Regions from separate parts of the Homo sapiens genome. Here regions 1, 2 and 4 are each linked to region 3. Evidence: promoter capture Hi-C in 16 types of primary human blood cells and fetal thymus (Javierre and others, 2016). All regions are on one chromosome and are shown on one strand. Each heading gives the region's core, a stretch centred on a gene start or on the middle of the fragment in contact. The rest is flanking DNA. Distances are from core to core; before and after follow the strand shown. Region 1 overlaps SERGEF (secretion regulating guanine nucleotide exchange factor). Region 2 overlaps LINC02718 (long intergenic non-protein coding RNA 2718). Region 3 holds the start of HTATIP2 (HIV-1 Tat interactive protein 2). Region 4 has its middle 7.6 kb from the start of FANCF.

Region 1 (2,700 bases), core at 171-2,670, 2.4 Mb after region 3:
TTGACAGAATCAGAGAGTAAAAACATTTTGACAGGTGACATTCTATGCAACAATAGGAGCAATGTGCCAAAGAGAAATTTAATAGAAATTCATTCATTTATTTAATGACAACCATTATGTGTAGGTACTATGTTTAGGCAGTGGGAGCAAAGTTGAATAAGACCTGTCCTAGCAGTTGAGAGTTTTATAGTTTGGTAGGACATGATAGGCACATAAATACTTAAATGTAATACCATGTCAGAACTATGACAGATGCATGTATATCCCCAAAGGAGGGAGTTTTGAGCATCTGGGGGAAGGTGGGGTGAGAAGAGGCTTAAGCTAGGTCTCAAAAGTTAAATAGAGGTTTACCCGTCTTGGGATAGGAGGATGCTCAGAGTGGGTGCAAAAGAAGAACATTCTAGGCAGAAGGAACCATGTAAGCAAAGGTGCAACGGAATGAAACAGGAGAGTTTGGGATATCGTAAGTAGTTTAGTATGGTTGGAATATAAGGAAGAGGTGGAAGTTCCAGGGTAGAGTGGGTGGGAATGGGGCAATCAGGGTGGTTGTATGTGACACATGGTAAGAACAACATGGTAGGGAGGTCAGATAGGAAGATGGATTGAAGGAAGGTTACTGAGGAAACTCTTGCTAACAATCCAAATGAAACAATTGTGGCTCAAACTAAAGCAGCAACAGTTGGGATGGAGAGTAAGAGGTGGAGGTGAGTGGTGTTAAAGAGACTGAAGTCACATGTAAAGCCCTTCAGTTAGTTTTTTGGGGAAAAACAAAAGAAAAATATAAAGGACAATATGTTCAAATTGTATTAACGCTAAGATTTGATCTTCTCGTAAGCTAATGTGATTGTGGACTCCATTGACAGAAGTATAGTTTCCAGAAGAAGGAAGGCCAAAGCTCAGCCCTTTCTGCTGTTCAGCCTGCATCTGGGATGTTGTGTTTTGTTGTGGATTTGGTGCTTAGGCCCTGGGCATAAAGGTATATAAGACTCAGGTCCTGCCCTTGAGGGTCCTAAAGTTTAGAAAGACACTGTGGACCTGTAAATAAACAAATGTGGTAAGCCTTAATGGGGTTATGATTATGCTATAGAGTTCCTTTAAAAGAGAAAGATTGAACAACTAGAGCATATTTAGAGAAGTGAAGACCAGGAGGGGAAGGGAATTTGAAATCCAGTGATGGCTGATGAATGGGGGATATTTGCTTTGAAGAAAAGATCTTCATTAGTTATCTATTGCTGTGTAACAAATTACTGCAAACCTTAGCAGCTTAAAACAGCAAACATTTATTATGTCACAGTTTCGGAGAGTCAGGAATTTAGGAACAGCTTAGCTGGTCTCTCATGAAGTTACAGTTGAGATGTTAGCTGGGTCTGCTTGCAATCTCCGTGGACCTGTAAATAAACAAATGTGGTAAAGCCCTAATGGTTTCATGTTCCTTGCCATGTGGACCTTTCTATTGGACTTTTCAGACATAGCATCTGGTTTCCCCCAGGAGTGATGAGAGAGAGAGGGAGAGATGCTAAGCAGGAAGCCTTAGTGCCTTTTTTCGCCTAGACTCTGAGTCACTCATTGCTGCTTTATTCTCTTTATTAAAAGCATGTCACTAAGTCCAGCCCACACAAGGGGAGGGGTATTAAGCTCCACATCTTGAAGGGAGGAGTAGCAAGAATTTGAGGACCTATTTTTAAAACCACTACAAGATGTCTTAGAGAGGACATGACAACTGTCTTCAAATATTTGGAAAGCATTGTCAGAAGCTGCAGGCAGATAGGTTTGGTTCCACCTAAAGAGATAAATGGAACTGTGCAAAAATGGAACAGGCACCTGGGGAAATGGCGATCCCTATGTCACTGGGGGTAGGTGTTTGGCAGGAGTTGGATGACCACTTGGTGGGGTGTTGTTGGATGGAGATTGGACTAGATCATGTTGGGAAACTTTGAGCCCTTGGTAAATAAAGTCTTACTGGCACACAGTCATGCTCATTCATTTATGTATAGTCTAGAGCTGCTTTTATGTTACAATGGCACAGCTGAGTAGTGTGACAGAAACTGTGGCCTGTAAAACATTTACTAACTGTCCCTTTACAGAAAACATTTACTAACTCTTGGACTAGATGACCTTAGAAGTGCCTCCCAGCCCTGAGAGTTGTTGTCATATGGTATTGTGATATGGTATTTTAAAAGATATATTTTTTTCTTTTAGGGATAAATGTAGAGGTATTAATGGGTGGAAATATTGGGGGGAGTGGTTGCTTTAAACCAGTCAGACCCATAATGAGGACCGTACTGCATTGTATTTGGTATAAATTACATAAAATTTTGTAGATGGATGGTTCTGAGATCTAAATCCTTTTCTTTATTTTGACAGCTCCATAAAGAGAAGGTTGTTTGTATTGCTGCTGGACTGAGGCATGCAGTAGCTGCTACAGGTGATCATCTTATCTTTATTTTTTTATTTTTATTTTTAATACTTTTTAGAGATGGGGTCTCACTCTGTTGCCCAGGCTGGAGTGCAGTGGCTCGATCATAGCTTGCTGTAGCCTTGAACTCCTGAGCCCAAGCTGTCTAACTGCCTCAGCCTCCTGAGTAGCTAGAACTATAGGTGCATGCCACCATGCCCTGCTAATTTTTAAGATTTTTTGTAGAGACAGGGTCTCGCTATGTTGCCCAGGCTGGTCTTGAATTTCTGGCCTCAAGCAATCCT
Region 2 (2,776 bases), core at 70-2,569, 2.5 Mb before region 3:
TTTCTTGATTTGGAGGGTTTGACCTTAAGCTAATTTTTTCCCTGAAAGCCGGTCCTTACAATCTTATGCACCCACCTCTTCTGCAATAGTCCAGGCAGCTTGTATAGTTTTGGCAGCAGAACATTAGCAGTGAAACAGGTCCAGGCCCAGTGGGATGCCAAACGAGGGAGATTCATACCTCTGGTTTTCAAAATACCATGATTTTGGTTTCCTTGGATGTAAAACAAGGAGAGATAATTAACATTTATAGTTTGACAATTATAGGAGTAATTCATAGATCAGAATAGAAAAAGGAACCTATTACATTAGGGTACCAACTAAAAATATGAAGAAAAATTATAACTTGGTGCTTTCTAGAGGATTCTTGTAGCCAAGAAATAATGATTTAATCTGTACTCAAAAAGTTAGGGCTGAAATCTAGTATTAAGTGTTACGCTTTACCCTTGAAACATTTTTTCTAGCTGCCCTTTTTATTAAACAAAAAGTTATAGCAAGGCCAATTTGCGTGCAAGGTAAGTTTTAGGCTTATTATGCTTGCCTGAATAGCTGCATAAAATGCAGCAAGAATTGATTGGCCATATAGACTCCTTTCGAGTTGGTTTTGCTGAAAGTTTACCTAAAAATAGAATATTTTAGTTTCAGTCTTGGTAAAATAACCAGTGTCTCCAATTGTTTGAAGAAAAAAAAAACTATAATTGAACTTAGGCAGACAACTATATTGTCATAAAATTCAATCTGAATTTTGGAGGACTCAGAAAGGTAAGTTTGCTTACAAAAATGTACTTTATCCAAATAACTTAAAAGATTTTTTTTTTTTTGACCCTTCTTTAACCAGAGCCGCAGCTTTTAAAACAAGTGTTTGTTTACCTGGGAAATGCCATTTACAAACCAAACAGCTAATGAGAACTATTAGGCACTGTAGAATTTAGCAGCTCCTCACAATTAGTCCTAGAAAAGAGGCTCTCTGCTTATTAAGTAGCAAGATTTTGTGTAAGCCATTTTTATTTTATCATAGGACTCTTTTGGGAAACATAATTTCCATTAGCATAGGGGTAGCTTCAGTTAATATCTCATAGCAAGGCAGTAAATGCCCTATCAAGTAGAAATTCTCTAGTTCGGTCATTGTCATTGAAAGGTACTCACAGTTTTTTCCATCAGCCCCGATAAAAGCTCCACATAAAGGGCTATGCAGCAAAGGAAAGCTTTACCCTATATTTTGTGGGCTTTTACTAGTTCCTATTTAGTGTGTTTAAATAACATTTTTAAATAAATAAATTTAATAAATGTTTAAATAACATTTCCTAAAGAGCCGATTTATATGTCTTCAGTTTTTATAGTACTAGAAAAGAGAAAAACAACCCCCAGTTAGATACAGTACCCATTTTCATAAGACTTTTTGGTAAAAGGGGGTTACAACTACCTTACATAAAGCTTGTTTAAACATCTTAAATTTTATAATTCTATTAAACTGTATGTTTTTATGTTCAGGTCTCAGGAACCCTTTTTTACCCCCAGACCATTTTACCTTTTCTGGTGAAAAGGATTTGGTTTCCCAGCAGGGAGTTACATCTATAAGACCTATGAGGGACCGCAGATTTGATAAGTCTACTTAAATAGTCCTGTCATTCTGTCAGAGGAGCACCCACGTAAAGGGGGTCCCCTAACCCCCAAATTTACCATGACCTAGGTAATATGCATATTTGGCAGGAGGATATCCCAGTTATAAAGCTAGTCCAACATGGCTTGCATATGAAACATATTAACTGCTTCATCTGGTGTACTTCACTTGGTATTTTATAGGAAGAGTGGGGCAGTCAACCCTTCTCAGGGCAAAGAGAACTTACAATGGCATTATCTGGCCCACTAGGCAGGAATAAACATGAAACTACTTGATCAATAAATGCAAACAAAATGCTAACATTGTTGATATTATTTTACCAATAGTTTTAAAGCCATCTTATTTATTAAAGATTTTACTTAAGTCATGTGAACCTGAAAAAATATTTGACTAGTCTTTTCTTTTTTAAGTCTCTGATTTAAGCACTTTTACCTATTTTTTTAGCCAATTAATTGGAACTCTTTACATATATATATTTTAGCAGTGAAACACTGCATAACATAAATACATGGACATATCTAGGCATGCCGATAGAGGTACATTTTATAGATTCATAAAGACTTCCTTTTCCTTTTTTTTTTTTTCAATTTTAGATTTTCAAATTCTCGATAACATGTTGCACCACCCTAAGCAGTTTTCAGCTAAATAGACATAAATTTGCATATTAAAGGAAACAACCCAGGTGACAATCAGATAGCAAAATTTACGTAATAAGGTACAAAAAGAAAAAGTTTGGTACGCTAAAGGAAAATTAAAATGAATGTAACTTCCAATTAAACATAAAATTATAGAATTTATGAAGGCCTTCAAATACATACACACATATATACATACATATACGTACACACACAAAGATCCTATAGATTTACTTTAGTACTTTGGCCATGAGATGAATATAAATTTGCCGGTTTGCAAAAAAACGGTTAGATCCAAACAGTGGTTTTTTATCTCAGTATGAAAGTAACACCAGATTTAAAGCAGGCAGAAAATAGAGAAAGAGAACTTAGGAACTCTATAGTTTGCAGGTCGACCTTAGGCACCTTTTTCCTTAAAGTAAAATGTACACAAAGACTATATTACTTCCATTTTCCATAAACTCTGGAAAGTAGAGGTGCCACAAAACCTACGGTGTGCTCAAAAGGGGGTCATTCTCCTTGT
Region 3 (2,775 bases), core at 138-2,637:
GAGGCAGAAGAATCGCTTGAACCTGAAAGGCAGAGGTTGCACTGAGCCGAGATCGTGCCACTGCACTCCAGCCTGGGGGACAGAGTGAGACTCCGTCTCAGAAAAAAAAAAAAAAAAACCTTTAACTTAGAGTGAAGGGAATATCCGATTTACAGACACAAGCCTGGGAAGTCAGGCAGGGCAAATTCTTGTAAGTGAATAATCCCACCTTTCACTGCCATAGACCTATCTCACTCTGCAAAGCAGTTTCAGAATCCCTGACAATATTAGTGTGAAGTGCGCAGGTTGACAAAATCAGCAAAGTGGCTGAGAAAATTCTCAAGGTCACCAGGGCTGCCTCTAGAATACAGCTTGTATGACCCTGAAAACAGTGCTCTTCTGTCTCACCAGCCCCCACCCCCATTACAACCCAGACCCAGCTTTATAGGGTTGCAGATGGAGAGAAGGGCTTTGCCCAAGACCACACAATGAGCGGGAGGGAGGCACACCTGGGCTACAATCCAGGAGTCAGACTTCTGGGAGGGACTCTCACAGACCAATCTTGGCCAAGTTTTGATGGCCTCTCACTACCCCCACCACTGGCAGGGCAGTATTCAGCCTTTAGGCATGAAATATGTTCACCTCGCAGAATCCTGGGGGTCCATTTGAGTCCCAGCTGAAATACCCACCACATTTTTATAAGCTTCCTCGTCGAAGGTGAGCTTCCTCCGGCCAATGAGCGTGACTTTGGAAAACAGGCCCTGCTCCAGGATTTCCTTTAAGAGCACTCTGCCGGTTTCTCCGCTGGCGCCCAAAATAAAGACGGATTTATTCTGCATCCTGAAGTCTTCCCGAAGCTTCGACAGGGCTTCTGTTTCGGCCATGCTGGGGAAATAACATCGACAGATGCCGGTCTTAGGGTGTCAGGGGACTGCCAGTCCTTATCCCGAGGAACAAGGGCTGTTTATCTGTTAGGGAGGAGGATATTGTTCTCCGCAGTCCGGGCTCTGGGGAAAGTGCTGAGTCACGTGCGGGGCGCGGCTCCCCGGCCATCGCCCGCACCTGAGCCAGCAGACCCATCGGAAGGGGCCCGAGCTGGAGGGTGCGCCCAGGTGCCACAAGCTGCTGGCATCACTGGGCATACCCCACGGTATCCCCGGCCCGGCCAGGAGACCTGGCCCAGCTCGGTCCCATACGCGGAGGGGTTACCTGGGGCCAGCCCCCGGCCCCGGGTCCTCACGACGCAGCAGGAGCAGGGCGGCCGCCAGAGCAGCCGCCGCCGCCGCGCTCAGCGCCGCAGGCCCGGCCATCAGAGCATCCCACCTTCCCTGGTCGGACCGGGGGGGTTGGAGGCGACGGAGACAGCGCCTACCCGGCTTGGTCTTCCGGGTGGCCTCGCGGCGACGCTGCCTCGCCCCGCCCACAGGGGCGGGACCTGGAGACGAACTCCTGGCACCCTCACAGGCGCGGGGAAGGTGACCCCGAGAGCACGTGCGCGGAGCCGCGACCCTTCCTAAGTTTGGAATCTGCAAGACCCTCTTCCCGCGTTTTCCCTCACCTGCTGGGCTCAGCTCACCCAGGCGCCAGCTAGTAGACTTGCCAGACTTGATCTTCAATGGTCCCCCCAGCTGGAATGTCAATTGTATATTGGCCATCATCTCAAATTCACCAAGTCAAAAACTTAACCCTGCCTACCCAACCACCCCAAACAGGAATAAAACAAACCTATTCCTAGCCTCTCTTGGGTGTCACTGTCCCTACATAAACATACACACACACACGCACACACACACACACCTCCTTCTACCCTGTCAAGTCAGAAATCAGGATTCCTTTGATTCCTTTCTTTTCTAGCCTTTCCACACTACAGACTTATCAAGTCCTGTTATCCCATCTGCCTTACAAATATTTCTCCCATGTAATTCAAGCTCGCATCATATCTCCCCAGAATAAATGGTCTACCTGCCCAGGTCCTGGCCTAATTCATCACCTAGATGGTTGAACCCGGGTGACCTTCCACACCTGTGATTCAGTCTTCCTAGCCCAGATCAGTGGTTTGGGACACAGGTATCTACACTGGGCCTGTCCTGGATCTTGGAAGTCCTGAACAGAGGTTAGAATGACAAGCAGAAATCTGAATAATTTCAGATTGTTCAGGTTTTGTTGGGAACATTGGTCATTTGGGGGCCCCACCTCCCATCTAGAAGCCAATGAAACACATTGCCTCTTCCATCTCCATGGGAGTTATTATATGTAGGCTTTGCCTAGGCTCAGCAAGCCAGAGGCTCACGCATAGGTTTTCAGTTTTGGAGGAGTAATGAAAAGATGCAGTGAAGGCCTGAGATATATGTGGGTTGGTTGGGGCAAGGGTATAGGATTATGGCATCATATGATCCACCAGCCATCTGATGGTCTGATCTTGTCTTAAATTCCTGCCTGTTTTCAGAGACTGTTGTGAATACAGTACTTCCTGTTATTCTTCTGATAAATTCCTGTGCTGTATAAGCTTACCAGATATATTCTGTTGTTTGCAATAAAAAAGCTTGATTAATATAGAGCAGTGTGGTTCATTCCCCACTGGCCTGTCACAGTGCCTGGACTCTTCCCTTTGAGTTCCTAAAGGTTTTCTACAAGAATGCAATGTTAAACCTTGTCAGCAAACACTGTCCTAGTAATTCATTTATCAAATCTGTCACAGAAATTATTCATTGTACCCTGTCTATTCTTCCCCTTTGTTTAAAATTGTGGCATAATTAATATACAATAAAATGTACAGAACCTAAAGGTTCTGTTCCA
Region 4 (2,777 bases), core at 27-2,526, 2.3 Mb before region 3:
AAATCTCACAACCAAGAAAATCTCACAGAGTCTACATCACTCCCCTGCCACCCCCATCAGAACTTCTGCTGGTACCCACTACTGTGAGATTAGAGAACAGGTCCTATCACTGGATCCCTTCCAGACATTCCCCAGCACCATCCTGGAGAATGGCAGCCCCACTGGGTGGCTAGAATCAGAAGAGCAGCAGCAGGATTCACAGTAGTTTGGCCCTCAGGGATCCCTCCTCCTAGGGGAAGTGGGAATATACCACATCAAGGGAGCACCCCGTGAGACCAAAGAATCCAGACTGCAGGCCTTGAGTCCCAAAACTGTCTATTTGTGGGGAGTTTATTTCAGCAAAGGCACAACAGGTGCAGTGTGGGGCTCAGTGGAGAAAGTTTGTGCCTCTACTCCAACTGTCAGCTAGCCCTGGTGCTCATGAAGGAACCTGGGGAAGAAGACTTTTTCTTCCTGATATGGTTTGGTTGTGTCCCCACCCAAATCTTATCTTGAATTGTAGCTCCCATAATTCCCACATGTTGTGGGAGGAACCCAGTGGGAGATAACTGAATCATGGGAGCAGTTTCCCCCATTATGTTCTCATGGTAGTGACTAAGTATCACAAGATCTGATGGTTTTATAAGCGGAAACCCCTTTCACTTGGCTCTCATTCTCTCTTTGCTGGCCACTGTGTAAGACATCCCTTTGCTCTTCCTTCATGTTCCGCCATGAATGTGAGGCCTCCCCAGCCACGTGGAACTGTGAATCAACTAAACCTCTTTTCTTTATAAATTGCCCAGTCTTGGGTATGTCTTCCTCAGCAGTTTGAAAACAGACTAATACACTTCCTCTTGCCCATCACTGCAAACATAGCTGTGGCTTCTCCCACAAGAGCTTGGCATGGGTACACATGTAGAGAGGCTTCCTGGAACACTTTCGGGTGACTGCATCCCCACAGGAGGAGTGCCCTCCAGGTGCAGACTTACATGAGGGATAGAGTCATAGTCCTTTTCTACATGTAACATCACCATTCCTACAGAAGAAAAGGGATGCCTGTCTCATCTGAATAGCTAGAACACTGGGTCAGGAGTGTGACTGGGAGTTGGATCACTTTCCTGCTGGCCTGGTTGGGGAACTACAGTGGCTCCTCCCTTCACCCTGAAAAGACCTTAGTGCATTTCACTGAAAGCTTCTCCAGCTGCCTCTGTCAAGGTTAGGACCTCTGCCCATCACTGGATATTGCATTCCACACCTGCTTTAGCTGCAGCCTGTTTTTACCCATGAACACCTCCTACTGGCCTGAAGCCTGAACTGTTCAACCCAGTGAATAAAATACTGGGAAAATAAATAAATTAATTAATGAATTAATGTACACCACTGGGGAACAAAATAAGCTTTGTGACATCTTTGTCATTCTGGCCCCATAGGAGACAGTAAACCTGCTCACACACTGAGCACATTGCTACTATAACCAGCATCTGAGAAGGCCATCACACCAAGGAGTTCATACAGATGTTTCACACAGATTCTTCATCACTGAAAACACCAAGAGCTGAAATAGGCTAAAATAAACTATAAACATTACAGTCATATCCTCAAGAGGGAAAAACAGAAATTGAAAAACCACATTTGAATAAAAAATAAATTCAAGAAGTAATTAGAAGAAATGGTCTACCCAAATGAGAAGAAATCAGAAAAACAACTCTAGCAATATGTAAAAACATGATTCTATAACACCACAAAGATTCCACTGACTCTCCAGCGATGGATCCAAACTAAGATGAAATCTTTAAAATACCAGATAAAGAGTTCAAGAGGTTGATTATTAAGTTCCTCAAGGAAATACAAGAAAAAGGTGAAAAACAACACAATAAAATGTAAAAGAAAATCAGGTTATGAATGAAAGATTTCCTAAACAGATTGATATTTTAAAGAAAAAAAAAATCAGAACTCTGGAAACAAAAGACACATTTAGGGAATTACGAAATGCAGGGAAAAGTTTTAACATTAGACTAGACCATGTGGAATAAAGAATTCCAGAACTTGAAAACAAGGTTTTTGAATTAACCCAATCACACAAAAATAAAAAAAAAAAGAATGAAAAGAAACGAATAAAATCTCTAAGAAACATGGGATTATGTAAAAGGGCCAACCTAAGAATTATTGATGCTCCTGAGTGGGAAGAAAAAGCAAAAAGTTTTGAAAACTTATTTATTTGAGGGAATAATTAAGGAAAACTTCCCTGGCTTTGCCAGCAATTTAGATATTCAAATACAAAAACCTCAAACAACTCCTGGGAAATGCATTGCAAAAAGGCCAACACCAAGAGCTAAAGTCATCAGGCTATCTAAAATCAATGTGAAGAAAAGAATTCCAAGAGCAGTGTGAAAAAAGCATCAGGTAACCTACAAGGTAAAACCTTTTAGACTAACAGCAGACTTCTCAGCAGAAGCCTTATAAGCCAGAAAGGGCTATGGTCCTATTTTAGCCTCCTTAAACAGAATAACTATCAGCCAACAATTTTGTATCCAGTAAAGCTAAGTTTCATAAATGAAGGAAAAATAAACTGTTTCTCAGACAAGCAAATGCTAAGGGAATATGTCACTGTTTGACTATTAGCTAGTTTAACCAAGAAAAGAAGAGAGAAGATCCAAATAAGCTAAATTAGAAATGAAAATGGAGATGTTACAACCAACCCCAAAGAAATAAAAAATATCCTTCAAGACTACGAAGAACACCTCTTTGCAAACAAACTAGAAAATCTAGAGAAAATGAATACATTTCTTGAAACACAC

Evidence for each region. The method cuts DNA at HindIII sites, captures the fragments that hold promoters and counts their contacts. A CHiCAGO score of 5 or more calls a contact.
Region 1: a contact is called between a fragment that was not itself captured here and the fragment with the promoter of HTATIP2 in region 3, in 1 of 17 cell types (activated CD4 T cells). The highest score is 5.8, in activated CD4 T cells.
Region 2: a contact is called between a fragment that was not itself captured here and the fragment with the promoter of HTATIP2 in region 3, in 5 of 17 cell types (non-activated CD4 T cells, total B cells, naive CD4 T cells and 2 more). The highest score is 13.1, in non-activated CD4 T cells.
Region 4: a fragment that was not itself captured here is called in contact with the fragment with the promoter of HTATIP2 in region 3 in 7 of 17 cell types (non-activated CD4 T cells, total B cells, naive CD4 T cells and 4 more); the score reaches 10.8 in non-activated CD4 T cells.

The regions. Positions count from the first base shown.
Region 1 is chr11:18,000,222-18,002,921 of GRCh38, reverse strand. It overlaps SERGEF (secretion regulating guanine nucleotide exchange factor), which reads left to right. Exons shown (of 11, transcript NM_012139.4): 5 at 2,365-2,425. Among named protein-coding and RNA genes, the nearest start is that of SERGEF, 11 kb to the left of the region's middle. The HindIII fragment of the contact is 3,312 bases long and covers 1-2,700 here.
Region 2 is chr11:22,835,664-22,838,439 of GRCh38, reverse strand. It overlaps LINC02718 (long intergenic non-protein coding RNA 2718), which reads right to left. Exons shown (of 11, transcript NR_187210.1): 3 at 76-211. Among named protein-coding and RNA genes, the nearest start is that of SVIP, 7.3 kb to the right of the region's middle. The HindIII fragment of the contact is 229 bases long and covers 1,205-1,433 here.
Region 3 is chr11:20,362,326-20,365,100 of GRCh38, reverse strand. HTATIP2 (HIV-1 Tat interactive protein 2) reads right to left here and starts at 1,387. Exons shown (of 5, transcript NM_001098522.2): 1 at 669-1,387. The coding sequence starts at 863. RefSeq lists silencers at 1,038-1,180, 967-1,386. The HindIII fragment of the contact is 1,649 bases long and covers 839-2,487 here.
Region 4 is chr11:22,632,057-22,634,833 of GRCh38, reverse strand. It overlaps a transcript of GAS2 not described here. Among named protein-coding and RNA genes, the nearest start is that of FANCF, 7.6 kb to the right of the region's middle. The HindIII fragment of the contact is 205 bases long and covers 1,174-1,378 here.